3 separate regions of the Homo sapiens genome follow, and regions 1 and 3 are each linked to region 2. Evidence: promoter capture Hi-C in 16 types of primary human blood cells and fetal thymus (Javierre and others, 2016). All regions are on one chromosome and are shown on one strand. Each heading gives the region's core, a stretch centred on a gene start or on the middle of the fragment in contact. The rest is flanking DNA. Distances are from core to core; before and after follow the strand shown.

The links. The method cuts DNA at HindIII sites, captures the fragments that hold promoters and counts their contacts. A CHiCAGO score of 5 or more calls a contact.
Region 1: a contact is called between the fragment with the promoter of LINC02656 here and the fragment with the promoter of RBM17 in region 2, in 1 of 17 cell types (neutrophils). The highest score is 5.6, in neutrophils.
Region 3: a fragment that was not itself captured here is called in contact with the fragment with the promoter of RBM17 in region 2 in 1 of 17 cell types (activated CD4 T cells); the score reaches 6.9 in activated CD4 T cells.

The regions. Positions count from the first base shown.
Region 1 is chr10:6,347,513-6,352,620 of GRCh38, forward strand. It overlaps LINC02656 (long intergenic non-protein coding RNA 2656), which reads left to right and starts at 2,804. Exons shown (of 1, transcript NR_148966.1): 1 at 2,804-5,108. RefSeq lists a cis regulatory region at 498-998. The HindIII fragment of the contact is 13,073 bases long and covers 1-5,108 here.
Region 2 is chr10:6,086,466-6,091,402 of GRCh38, forward strand. It overlaps RBM17 (RNA binding motif protein 17), which reads left to right and starts at 2,569. Exons shown (of 12, transcript NM_032905.5): 1 at 2,569-2,728. RefSeq lists enhancers at 2,221-2,270, 3,227-4,065 and silencers at 2,431-2,870, 2,881-2,970, 3,241-3,300. The HindIII fragment of the contact is 5,297 bases long and covers 1,777-4,937 here.
Region 3 is chr10:6,377,054-6,381,554 of GRCh38, forward strand. No RefSeq gene overlaps it. Among named protein-coding and RNA genes, the nearest start is that of LINC02656, 29 kb to the left of the region's middle. The HindIII fragment of the contact is 6,566 bases long and covers 1-4,501 here.

The DNA.
Region 1 (5,108 bases), core at 1,554-4,053, 260 kb after region 2:
TGTTCATTTGCTTCTCTGAGCACATCTTGTGTGGAGTCTCGGGCCCCAGACAGCAGGGCTGCAAATGACACACTCAGCTGCAAGGCAGCAGTGATCTGTGGACGAGATTCAAATCCAGAGAAAAAAACGGAAGCCTCGAACTGCATCTGAAAACCAGCGAGAAAGAAGCAAATTCCTGTGAAATGGCACAGGCATCATTTCAGCGTTGACTCATTCTGCTCAAACCTGTCACCGCTCACACGGGAGTGGTCGTTGGAATAAGGGACTTCTCCTCAGGTGAATGACAAAGAAACACAGATTTGGATTTGCCCAGGTGTCTGGAGAGGAGGCTGCCCCTGGATGCCGTGCCCCACTGTGCAGAAAGGGGATGCCCGGGGCATTGTCACCGCAGCGAGTCTGCACCTACCATCCTCTGGCCCCTTTCTGCCACCTCTGCAGCATCTCCAATTAAATTTTAAAAAAGTAAAAGTGGGGACAAGAATCATCTGCCTGCCTGTGTTTGGCCCTCCTTCCAAGTTTTTGTGTTCTGTTTGAAATCAAACTTATGCTTTCTTCCAAAATGAATGACAGAGAAAAAAGAAAAAGCCACCCAGGCTTGAAAAGTGGTAGCTTCTTGCCGCCGACTTCCTGCCGGTGCCAAGTCAGAGGGAGCTCTGCGTGTCCTCAGTTCACCCTCGCCAGGCCACACCGCATGCAAATAAGAAGCTGTTTCAGTGTGTGCCCATCTGAGACGCTGACATAAAAAAGGAAGAAAGAAAGGAAAAAAACCACCGTCACCACCAACAAAAAAACCCAAAACTGATTAATTCTCGTAGATTGCAGCAGAGCAGGGGGCCTGGTGGTGACACATCCTGTTTTGCTGTTCAAGTTGTCATCCCCCAAGCCAATAAGCTCCCTCATGAACGGCACCAGTTATGAAGGGTGACAAAGAATTCAAAACACTCACAGGACAATTTTCCTAACCCTTGGTCTCTCGGAATGCTATTTTTTAGGCTAATTTGTTTTGATGAGAAAACTATGCCTGCTAGGCCTATTTTTAAGCCAGATTTGAAGTCAACGCAGTTGGTATTTGATCTTGCAAGAACGACAGAGGTGTCAGCAGCAGCTCTGCCATTTAAGAGCTGTAGCCTGGTGGGACACCGTCCTGCAACCAGGGCCCTAGCACAAGAAGTATCTCTGTTGTTATTTGCTTCTCTTCTTTGAGATCCATACTTGATTTGAAAAATCACCACTTGAGCGGCACCTGGTGATTACGTAACCATTCAACTCTGTGTTTTATCCTAGGGCTAGGTAAGAAATTGAAAATCCAGCCTGAAATAATTAGTTTAGCTGCAGACAGGGTGTATTAAACAGACTCAATTTAATAGAGCTAGAACCATAAGATGAATGTATTTATCTTCAATCAAAGATGACATGTTGGACAGATTCCTTCATTCATCACTTTTCTGTTATGTTTAGCCCTAAGGGAAGTCTTTTTTAGATACGTAAGATGCACCTTCAGGGTTAAAGCATCTAGTCCAGTCTGAATAAAACATCAAAAGCACCTACAATCCCAAGCTCCTTCAAGAACTTTGCAGGCAGTCTTCGGGTGAGTTTGGTAAGACTATTAATCGGAGTAATGAAATAAAGTATTATCACATCTATTTATTTTTCTCATTTTCTTTTAACTTCTCTTTTGTGTATGTTCTAAAATACACATAATTTTCAGTTCATAGGGCATTTTCCCCTTGTAAGTAAATATGAATATATTTCAGAGTGAGCTCAAAGTTTTACGTTAGATTTAGGTAGGCATTTTTTTTTTTTTTTTTTAAGATGGAGTTTCACTCTGTCACCCAGGCTGGAGTGCGGTGGCTCGATCTTGGCTCACTGCAACCTCCGCCTCCTGGGTTCAAGCGATTCTCCTGCCTCAGCCTCCTGAGTAGCTGGGATTACGGGCACCCACCACCACACCCGGCTTATTTTTGAATTTTTAGTAGAGCTAGGGTTTCACCATGTTGGCCAGGCTGGTCTAGAGCCCCTGACCTCAGGTGATCCACCCACCTCGGCTTCCCAAAGTGCTGGGATTACAGGCGTGAGCCGACAAGGTAGGCAAAAGTTAAAAACAAAAAAACAAAAAAACAAAAAAAAATTTGGAATAGTCTGTAACAGAGGAGGGCTTGAAGAGAAGTGAGGTGATTTGCAGAAGCATCAGCCAGGAGGCATTCCTCCAGGAGAAAAATTTTTACTTAAAGGAGAGAGCTTAGTGATGGAGAAGGAAAAGATCTCGACAGACATTCAAGATTAGAATCATAAGTTGGCCATTGATTGGGTGTGGCTCTGGGAAGTGGAGGTGCTGTGGGCAGGGGCTGGCTTGGGCAATGAGAAAATGGTGTTGCTTATGTGCCCACTCTGTGCTGGGACTCAGCTGTGAGTGCCTCCAAATTCACCACATTTATCAAACCTCAGTGCTCTGAGACAGCATATGATGGCCTAGCAGGATGTCCATTCTTTTCCTGGAACCACCCATCCAGTTATCTCCTTGAGTCGCCTGGGTGGTGAAAAGTGGTCTCATGCACAATGGATGCGGTGTGATCCCCTTGCTATGTCACGCATGGCGTCTGCCCTCTTCCCTGGCACCTGTGCCACTCCAGGTTATGCCTGTGCTGCTGCCCATTCTACGCCCACCTGGAAAGCCTGAAACCTTCTCGTGCCTTCTACTGCAGCTGGGGAGCTTCTTCCACGTCTCATAGCCAGCTTCTCCAGAGGGAACTCCCAGAGCTGACTGTACTTTCCTACCTCAGCCTCTTCTTCCTGGGATGGTGTCAAAATATGAACAGATACAGCTTCATGCTTTCAGGAAACCACCTTCTCTTCCATCTTCTCCTTTGGCCTGCTCAGACAGCCAGACTTCTTAAACATATTTTTCCTACAGGCTCATGCAAATTAAGGGATGTGGCTGAGCATCTCCTTCAGTGCCCTCAAACAGGTCATGAATGTTGCAAAGCCCAGAATCGTGCTAACCTGGTAGAAGGCTGGTTTAGCCAGAACACACAGAGAGGACCTTCTCATGATGGTGTGGCTGAATTCCACATGTCACTAACAGTATCTTGCCCTGACCCGACTCCAAGTACTGATCCCCAAGGAAGGCATAATAGAGAGCCCATCTTGGGGAGGGATGATGACTTCATGTGCAAACAAGTCAAATTCAGGATGTGTGTTGTGGGCAGAGATGGCAATGCCCAGTCATCTGTTAGGTATACAGGTCCGCTGTACAGGAGAAAAATCAGAACAGAATTTCTATTTGTAGTGTTTCTTTTAGAGACTAGGGAATTGAAACCACAGGTGAATAAGAATGTACAAGGAACCAGGCCTTCTTGAAGAAATAGCTGAACCAGATTGGTGTCAGGAGCTGTACAAGGGGATCCAAGAATGTCTTGTCATACAAGCCGGACAGCTATTAAAGACAACTGAGGTCATGGCAAAAGGGCCCAGGCTTCTACTGGCCAACAATGAGACAATTTGAGCATCCCAAAGAATAATGACTTTAGTGGACTGAAACACATCAACATGTATACATCCATGAATTCATAATACTCAAAACGGTAAAACCAAACTCATTTGTTACCTTTGGAGGAGTCTGTCACCTCTGATTATTCTGAAAACTGGTAAATAGAAGGGGAAAATTCAAGCATTTATTCTGCTTTTCTTGTATAAACTGTACCTCACAGTTACGGAAGAGCTGATAAGGGAAATGTCTTCTTTATTGAAAAATTCAGCTGATACATTTGGAAGGAATGAGAGAATTACAGTACCACCATTAGGTGACAATGAGGGTCTGGTTTTTTATTTTTCTTTTGCTGAGTGCTGGGAACATAGTGATAACAAAAAAAGCCATAGTGTTCTGGCCCTTCTGGAGTTTTGATTCTAGCACATTAACCAAATAATCCCAGAGCAAAAATAAAATGTCAACTATGGTAAGTGTAGAGAAGGGAAAATACACAGAACTTTTAACAGCTTAGATCCGAGGAAGCTGACCAGCCTGCAAAAAGGGACAGCTTCCCTAGGGAAGTGACTTTGCAGCTGTGATGATGGATGACTAAGAGTTAACCAAGGAATGGGAGGAGGGAGGAGGAGACAGAGAAGGCTTTCCAAGCAGAAGCCAGAGCATGTGCAAAGATCCTGTGGCAAGAAGGAGCCTGGTGCAGGGGAGGAACGAAGAGACATGCAAGCTGGCTGGAGTGCAGAGAGGGAGACAGGCAGGCAGGCAGGTGGTTGGATGGGGAGGCAAGGATCAGATCCTGAGTCCCTTGGAGAAGCAGGAAGGCATCATGATGACTAATGTCAGAGGCAGGGGAGGACAGGTAGGGATAGACAGGGAAGCAGTGCTGGGAAGATGCTAAAATGCTGCAGTTTGTGCTTGGAAAGATCATGGCCTGGTTCTTCCATTGTCATGATGGGTTGTTCTCTTTCTTATTGTTTTTCTAATTTGTCTTGACTAATGGAGAAGATCAGGAGCTCAAAAATAGAGGTTGTTTACAGCACTCAGTTTGGCTGCTATAGGTTAATGGGCTTAGACTCTTTAAGGGGATTAGGCTTTTGCTCAGAGACCAGTGGAGTATTCTAGCCAGGCTGTCTTGTGAAGGTGGTATGTTAAGAACTAGGTTTGTCTGATTTCTCAAATTAAAATGTGGTACATCAAATTAAATTTGAATTTCAGATAAATAACAACTAATTTCAGATGTGTCAGATAAAGAATGGATATGGCTCTAGTACAATATGGGATAATGAATATTTTCAGATAAATAGATGCCCTGTATTCTGTGTAGCAAGCATAACTAGAGAATCAATGTTAGTGCTCAAACTAAGAAGACTTTTGAGAAATTATCAGAGGTAAATACAAATATACATTTCCATCCATCCATCCATCCATCCATCCATCCATCCATCCATCCATCCATCCATCCCTGTTGAGCTCCAACTATGTGTCAGGCACTTCTGGGGGGTTGAGGGTATTGTGATCAGTAAGACAAACTCTCTGCCTTTATAGTGTTTACATTCTAGGAGAAAAATATTCATCTTAGAGAGATTATAAAAAACAAATCTTCCGAAATAGTATCTGTTACGTCCAA
Region 2 (4,937 bases), core at 1,319-3,818:
ATGAATTCTACCATCTGCTGCCTGCCAGCCTCCTGCCAGGCGCTGAGCACAGCTGGAGCAGATCACACGACTTGTTTACGCAGGAGTCACTACCGATGTTTGCTCTGCAGCCCCGAGGGGGCGCTCCAGCGCGTCTGTCTTGTCCCTCTTCTAAAGCTCCACCGTTTTGTGTGCGCTTTCTGATAGTTGCATGGCCTGGGTTCTGTTCCCCCATTGGGTTAAGCTTTGGATTCTCGGTGCATAAAATAAAGATGATATTTGTTACTATTGACAGGAAATGGAGGCAAGCATGAGACTGCTCACGTACTAGGAAATGAAGTAAGGCAGTTTTCCTCCTGGAAGTTAAACTAGAAAATTCCTAAACAATGGATGTGATTGCATCTATGGTCTGTAAACCAAAAAGTTACTTGTGTATGTATGATGGAATGATTTGGGAACAAAGGCACAAATTTTCAACCAAAAAGGGAGGAAGGAGTGGTCTCAGACTGCAGAGTGGAGACGCCAAGCAGATTAGGGAGTACAGGTAGACAGCAGGTTCAACCTGGAGGAAGTCCTGCAGCTCTGGACCTCCTAATCAGGGCTTTTGCACCCCCACCGGTGCTTTGATCACGGGGTGGGGAGAGACCCAGTCTAGACACCTTCTATCTTTGCCCTTCTTCCTTTTTCTGTTTACACGCTATTACTTTCTGCTTCTTTTATTGACCAAGTACGTCCTTCTGCTTCTCACATTTTTATTTTATTTCCAGTTTCTTGCACAAGTGCTTAATTCATTTAGCTTTTTCCAAGTTTTTAATTGATACAAAAACTTAAAACCATGAATTTTCCTCTTAGTACTCTCTGAGCTAAATCCCATGAGTATGTCATTTTCATACTTTTCTAGATATTATGTTATTTTGATTTTGTTTTCCTTTTTAGTCCAAGTGTTATTTAAGCATTTAAAAATTTTCAAGGGGTAGGCATGTTTTATTTTCTGTTTTTTCATTAATTTCTACTTTTATTGAATTGCTGCAGATAATATTACCGATATGATTCTACTTATTGGACTATGTTAAGATTTTTCTCTGTGGTTTAAAATATGACTAATTGTTGTGAATATTCCTTAGACACTGGAAAAGATGTAATGTCTATTTAGGGGACAGTGTTTGATATATTAGATCTATCATAGGAATTGTATTTTTAGGTCTTCTCAATCCCCATTTACTTTTTGTACTCTTCGTCTGGCAAGGAGTGTGCCAATTATTTCTGTCTATTCACTCACTCCTACAGTGTTTGCTATGAATAATGAGATTATGTGATTTGGTGCAAAGATTTTCCTATTTTTCCTATTTTTTTCTTGATTGTGAATTGTGCTCCTCAAGATTATAAAATGTCCTTCTTAATCTTACTTAATGCTTTTTGCCCTGAAATCAACTTTGTAGTAAGCGGTTTGTGATTCCTGATTTTTTTAATTTTTTTGCATATTCCTGGTATATCTTTTCCAATCTTGTATTTTCAAACTCAGAATAACGTTAGCACTTTCTTGTATACAACACTGAGTTGCATGATGGTTTGTGCTCCTATCTGAGATTGTAGTTTTTTAGTAGGTAAGCTTAGGTCTATATTTCTTCTTGTGAGACATTTGGTCTTGTTCTGTCATATAGTTTGGTTACGCTTTCTGTTTTGTAACTTTTTAAAATATTTCCCTATATATATATTTTTTTTGCTGTGGTTTTGTGTGTGTGTGTGTGTGTGTGCATGCATGTATGTGTGGGTGCATGTATGTGTGGATTATTTGAAAGCTTTGTAGTTTTGTTCTGGGTTACCCTCAGAATCATACCATCCCATGACGTCCTTAATCCTCTATTTCTTTAGATTGTCTTTTGTCTCTCCACTGTATTTCTTTTTTCCCCCTTTTCCCGTTTTCTTAATGACTGGATTTTAATGGATTATAGTAACTTTCTTGGTATACTCCTTCGGACTAAGACGTCTGCTTAAATCTCTACTATTTGATTTATCGGCTTGAACTCTATTTGACACCCAATTAATTACAGATGTAAAAATCATATTTACCCGAAGTCCCACTTTCCCTTTCCCTCCCTGCTTCTGTCAGCGACGTCGTTTTTAAAGACCGAGGCTTTATAGCATTGACATTCTTTTCTGTACCCCTAATCGCGGCATCTGTTTCCATAATCTTACGCTTAACCTCGTGCTCCTTGCCATCCTTTTGCAGCATCTGGCCTATGCAGACTTATTTTCAACTTTTTGCTTATATAGGAGTGGCTTTGAATGAATGAGATCGAGGGGCCTGGAGGGACTTCCCCCACCTCCCCTATCAGAAAGCCCGGCCTCGGACCACTTCTCCTCCTCACCATCTGGGGGCGCTGCCGCGCTCCCCAAGCCTTGTGGAATTTCGAAAATGTGCGCCAGGGCGACACCTCTTGATGGTAAGAAGACGCCGGCGGAGGGGAGCGTGCAGTGCGGTCCTCCCGCGGGCAGGGGGCAGTGCGGCAAGGCGCCCTCGGCGCAGGCGCAGAGGCCGAAGCAGGCGCAGGCGCAGGCGGGGCGCAGGCGCGGGCGCGCTCTCCCGGCAGCCCGCGCTCCCTGACCCCGCGCCGCCGAGCGCCCTGAGGACTCAGCGAAGGGTGGGCGCCGCCGAGGCCTCCTGCCGCTGGCGGGTTTCCGCGGAGTGCCGCCCGGCTCCGCTCTGCCGCCGGCGCGGCTCATGGGCAGAGTCGGCCGGGCGGGCCGGGTAAGTGGCGCCCCGGCGGCCCCGGGTGGGTGGCCTGGCGGGACCTGAGGCGGGCGCGCCTTCCCGGGAGGCGCTAGACGCAAGCCCGCGGCTTTAGGCCCGTCGCGAGGGGCGGAGGCCGGGCCAGCGCAGCCGGAGCCTCCGAGGGTCTCAGTCCCCGCGGCGGGCGCTGGTCTCTCCACGCGGCTGCGGCCCGGTACCCTCCGCCCGCCGCCGCCTCTGGTGACCCTGGCCCTGACCTTCTCCCTCTTCCCTTCCTCCTCCTCCTCCTCATGTCTGCCTCGGGCTGTTTGGTGCTGAAGAGCGTTTCTTCTCCGTCTCGTGCACCGCATCCTGACGAAATTGTCTGGTCACCAGAACCGAGTAGCCCGTAGCGTGTCCCCCCTGGCCCTGCACGGTTGCCCCTCTCTGGGGCTCGGAGCCGGTTCCTCCCGGGGTCTCAGAACTGGGAGTGCAGACGTTGGCGTTTCTCAGACTCCGGAGCTGCCCGGGACAGGAATGCAGCCCTAACCCCGGCGTCGCCTCGGCTCGTGCAGTTTGAGCGGTGTTTCAGCGCTCACGTCCGACCCCAGGCAGTCTTTGAGCTTCGCCTCTTGCCCCGAGAATGTGTAATGATCGGAGAATGCAGGTGGAATGAGGTTCTGCCCCTGCTTGCAGGAGTTTGGTTTCTGGGAAAGCAGGCGTGAAAACCCAGGCCCGGGTTGATTTGAGAAACGCAAGTGGGGTCTGGAAGGACCTCTCTTGAGAGAGGAGGTCATGCTTATGTTGAGTCTTGAAGGTACGTTGTTAGATGTGAGAGGTGGGAAAAAGGCTGCCGGCGGAGGAAGTAAGTGCGAAAGTAGCAGAAGCGAAGCCCCGTAGTGCGTTCTGGAAGCTGCAGGTTAGGCAGAAAGAAAGGTTTGAGGAGGGGCTGCTGTGTTTCCAGGAGTAGTCAGGTCAGAACATGGAGGTTTCTTGAGAAGCAGTAAAGAAGCGCCATTGAGGGTCCTTATTTTGCTAGAGCCAGGCATATGGATGGGAAATAGGATATTCTAGATAAGGGCAAGATTCGCATATACTCAAATAGATGGGTAGATGTGCACTGGCTCCCCGCAGCAGATGGAGTTTTTAAAAGGATGCAACACAAGTTTCCACATTTTTAGTTGTAAAGGCTGCAGACATTTTGATCGTAATGACAGCTTTTAGGGAATATGGGGTAACAGTTTAGTGAGCTAAACGAGAGGGCTTTATTTTTAGAGTTAGTTAAGCAAGGTGCTGCGTGCTGTCCAGTTTATAACAGAGCAGGTTGTGCGGTTGTGGAGCTCTGCGGAACCAAAGGCAGCCTTTCTGGAGGCTCTTGAGAGAATTGTTGTACACTTCCAAATGCAGCTTTATTTAAAGTGGATTTCTTTTTACCTGGTTTGTTTTAACTTACCTTCCCATTCTCCCCTGCCTATGAATTTTTCAGACCTCCTCCCAGCAGGGAACAGATGATCCCAGGCTAGTCATCTCTCAAACCTTTCATAATAGTCAATAGTGAAGGAAGTTCTGTTATTCGCCTAAATTACAGGTGACTGTAGTGGACTGTGTTTGCAATACTAGCCTATGGCATTTTGGTAACAGCCAGAGGGTGGGATTGAATGGAAAGATTAAACTGACAAGGGCGTCAGATGGAGGTATGGGAAAAATTTTTTTTTAATTCTTTAGAAAGTCATGGTAGATCTTATACTTGAGGTAGATGCTTTTTAAGCTGTATTTTTTGCGGACACCAAAGTGCACCACCCCTCCTGTTCCTTTCTGGGTATATTTGCCATATATATGTATATAAATATATAAATATTTATATATTTATATATATTTATATATTTTTATATATATATTTATATACATATATTTTTTTCTCCTGAGACAGAGTCTCACTCTATAGTCCAGGCTGGAGTGCAGCGGTGTAAGTCGGCTCACTGCAACCTCCACTTCCCAGGTTCAAATGGTTCTCTGGCCTCAACCTCCTGAGTAGCTGGAATTACAGGCGCTCGCAACCATGCTCGGCCAATTTTTGTATTTTCAGTAGGGACGGGGTTTCACCATGTTGGCCAGGCTGGTCTCGAACTCCTGATCTCAAGTGATCCTCCTGCCTCGGCCTCCCAAAGTGCTGGGATTACAGGCGTGAGCCACTGGGCCCGGTCTTGCCATATTCTTTAGGCTTCAAAGAGGCATGCTTTGTTTTATG
Region 3 (4,501 bases), core at 746-3,245, 290 kb after region 2:
TGATGATGGACAGGATCAGGGAATGGGAGTTGTGAAAGTTCTTAATTTATTTATATATTTATTTATTTATTTAGAGACAGGGTCTTGCCCTGTGCCCAGGCTGGAGTGCAGTGGTGTGATCATAGCTCACTGCAGCCTCGACTTCCCAGGCTCAAGCAATCTTCCCACTTCTGCCTCCTGAGTAGCTGGGCCTACAAGCATGTGCCACCACACCCAGCTAATTTTTAAATGTTCTGTAGAGTTGGAGTCTTGCTATTTTGCCCAGCTGCCCTTCTGGGCTCAAGTGATCCTCTTGCCTTGGGCTCCCAAAGTACTGGCATTAGAGGCATGAGTCACTGCACCTGGCCAAATGTTTTTTTTTTAATTGATGCATAATAGATGTATGTAGTTTTGGGGTACATGTGACAATTTAATACATTCATATAATTTGTAAAGATCAAATCAGTGTACTTGAGATATCCATCACCTTAGATATTTGTCTTTTATGTTAGAAACATTTGAATTCTTCTCTTCTATTTTGAAACACACAACAGATTATTGTAAACTGTGTCACCCTACCGACCTATCTAACACTAGGTCTCGTTTCTCTTAACAAACTGTATATTTGTACCCATTAATCATCTTTTCTTCACCCGCTTTTCCCCCTACCCTTCCTTAGCTGGGTAACCACCAATCTACTTTGTATCTTCATGAGATCTCCTTTATAGCTCTCACTTATGAATGAAAACATGCAGTATTTGAAGAGTCACGTTAGAAGAGGTTTAGAGGCTGTGTAGGAGTTCTCCAGGAGAAGGTGGAGGATGGAAGAAGGGAATTACAGTAGGCAGAGAAAACCTGAGTGAGAAAGTAAAAGCCTGGGTCAGGAGGACAATGAATGGCCCAGGAGGGTAGGCCCCGTGCTGGGGCTGGTGGGAGATGTGTGCGGAAACTGCAGGGCTTTGCCTGCCAGGCTAAGGAGTTTTCCTTTCATCTGGAAGATGATGGGAGAACTATCAAAGGGGTCAGAGAAAGGATGCTGACAGTCTCCTCTGCCCCACTGAGTTAAGCAGCCTAGTTTGTTCTGCTCATGCTGATAGCCAGCTTGCTCCCCCTCTCGCAGCTCCTCTCCCACTGCTGCCCCCATCCATCTACTGAAGACCTCGGGTATTAGTCCATTCTCACACTGCCATAAAGATACTACCTGAGACTTGGTAATTTATAAACAAAAGAGGTTTAATTGACTCACAGTTCTATATAGCTAGGGAGGCCTTAGGAAACTTACAATCACGGCCGAAGGTGAAGGGGAAGCAAGGCATGTCTTACATGGTGGCGGGAGAGAGAGAGAGAGTGAAGGGGGAACTGCCACTTTTAAACTATCAGCTCTTATGAAAACTGACTCACTATTACTAGAACAGCATGGGGGAAACCATCCCCATGATCCAATCTCCTCCTACCATGTCTCTCCCTCAATACCAGGGGATTAAAATTCGAGATAAGATTTGGGTGGAACAAAGAGCCAAACCATATCACCTTGCTAGTCTTTAGATACCAATTGGGCTTCCCCAGGCAGCTCAGCAACTGTAGTGCTTTCCTCCTCTGAATCCATAGAGGTTTTTTTAAATTTTTTTTTATTTTATTTTTTTAATTTGAAACTTCTATGGCTTTACTTATGTTATTCTTTCTGGGTTTTTTTTTGTTCCTCTTTTGCTGCCTGGTAGAAGGCTACTCAACTTGAAATGTGCCACCAAGATGCCATCTCTTATGTAAAGCCTTATCCCACCACCTAAAAGCAGAAAAATGTGCTCTCTGCTACAGCAATTCAATCACTCTAATGTTACAGACAGATGTGTGCTGGTAAAAAACCACCATCTCAAAAAAGAAATGAAGAAAAAGCCAACAAAACCCAACCCAAACCAACACCACCAAAATCCTGATTTGTGGTGTTTGCCAATTTCTGTAGTATAAATACTCCCACCATGGCTGCTTTCAAGCTACCAACTTGAGATTTCTGAACTTGCAGCTGGGAAGAGATATGTAATGTCAGTTCTCAAGAGTTGATTCAGGCCAGGCATGGTGCTACACACCTGTATTTCCAGCTACTTGGGAGGCTGAGGTGGGAGAATCACTTGAGCCTGAGAGTAAGCCATGATTGCACAACTGCATTCCATCCTGGGGAAAAAAAAGAGTTGGTACAAGCTGGCTCTAGCACATCACTGGACTTTATAGACCTGGCCTCACTGTGGTTCATTGTTCACATAGACTACAAGTATTTAGGAGAGAGAGACAGTGGGCCTGTCTTATTCATCTTTGTTGACTAGTGCATGTTCCAGTCTGGCATACAGCAAACACTCAATGTATATTTCTTCCCCAGGTATTTATTATTTGAATGAGTGGGTGGTTACCATGTGTATTAGTCCATTTTCATGCTGCTTATAAAGACGTACCTGTGACTGGGAAGAAAAAGGTTCAATGGACTTATAGTTCCACATGGCTGGGGAGTCCTCACAATCATGGCAGAAGGCAAGGAGGAGCAAGTCACATCTTACAAGGATGGCAGCAGGCAAAGAGAGAGAGCTTGTGCAGGGAAACTCCTCTTTATAAAACTATCAGATCTCATGAGACTTATTCACTATCATGAGAACAGCACAAGAAAGATCTGCCCCTGTGACTCAATTATCTCCCACCAGGCCCCTCTCACAACATGTGAGAATTCAAGATGAGATTTGGGTGGGGACACAGCCAAACCATATCATTCTGCCACTGGCCCCCTGCAAATTTCATGTCCTCACATTTCAAAACCAATCTTGCCTTCCCAGCAGTCCCCCAAAGCCTTAACTCATGTCAGCATTAACTCAAAAGTCCACAGTTGAAAATTTCATCTGAGACAAGGCAAGTCCTTCTGCATATGAGCCTGTAAAATCAAAAGCAAGTTAGTAACTTCCTAGATACAAAGGAGGTACAGGCATTGGGTAAATACAGCCATTCAAAATGGGAGAAATTGGCCTAAACAAAGGGGCTACAGGCCCCATGCAAGTCTGAAACCCAGCGGGGTAGTCAATTCTTAAAACTCTAAAATGATCTCCTTTGACTCCATGTCTCACATCCAGGTCATGTTGATGCAAAAGGTGGGCTTCCATGGTCTTAGGCAGCTCCATCTCCATAGCTTTGCAGAGTACAGCCTCCCTCCTGGCTGCTTTCATGTGCTGGTGTTGAGTGTCTGTGGCTTTTCAAGGCACATGGTGCAAGCTGTTGGTGGATCTACCATTCTGGGGTCTGGAGGACAGTGGCCTTCTCACAGCTCCACTAGGCAGTGCCCCAGTAGGGACTCTGTGTGGAGACTCTGACCCCACATTTCCCTTCTGCACTGCCCTAGCAGAGGTTTTCAATGAGGGCCCCACCCCTGCAGCAAACTTCTGCTTGGGCATCCAGGCATTTCCATACATCCTCTGAAATCTAGGTAGAGTCGACTTAATTCTTGACTTCTGTGCACCTGCAGGCTCAACACCACGTGGAAGCTGCCAAGGCTTGGGGCTTCCACCCTCTGAAACAACAGCCTGAGCTGTACCTTGGCCCCTTTTAGTTATGGGTGGAGTGGCTGGGACTCAGGGCACCAAGTTCCTAGACTGCGCACAGCAGAGAGACCCTGGGCCTAGCCCACGAAACCATTTTTTCCTCCTAAACCTCCAGGCCTGTGATGGGAGGGGCTGCCGCAAAGGTCTCTGACATGCCCTGGAGACATTTTCCCCATTGTCCTGGTGATTAACATTCAGATCTTCATTACTAATGCAAATTTCTGCAGCCAGCTTTAATTTCTCCTCAGAGAATGGGATTTTTGTTTCTATCACATTGTCAGCCTGAAAATTTTACAAACTTTAATGATCTGTTTCCCTTTTAAAATTGAATGCCTTTAACAGCATCCAAGTCACCTCTTGAATGCTTTGCTGCCTAGAAATAGAAATCTTCCACCAGATACCCTAAATCATCTCTCTCAAGTTCAAAGTTCCACAAATCTCTAGGGCTGGGGCAAAATGCTGTCAGTCTCTTTGCTAAAACGTAACAAGAGTTACCTTTGTTCCAATTCCCAACAAGTTCCTCATCTCCATCTGAGACCACCTCAGCCTGGATTTCACTGTCCATATCATTATCAGCATTTTGGTAAAAGCCATTCAGCAAGTCTCTAGGAAGTTCCAAACTGTCCCACATTTTTCTGTCTTCCTCTGAGTCCTCCAAACTGTTCCAACCTCTGCCTGTTACCCAGTTCCACATTTTTGTGTATCTTTTCAGCAGTGCCCCACTCTACTGGTACCAATTTACTGCATTAGTCTGTTTTCATGCTACTGATAAAGCCATATCTGAGACTGGGGAAAAAAAAGAGGTTTAATGGACTTATAGTTCCACATGGCTGGAGAGGCCTCACAATCGTGGCAGAAGGCAAGGAGGAGCAAGTCACATCTTACATGGATGGTGGCAGGCAAACAGAGAGAGATTGTGCAGGAACATGCCTCTTTATAAAACCATCAGA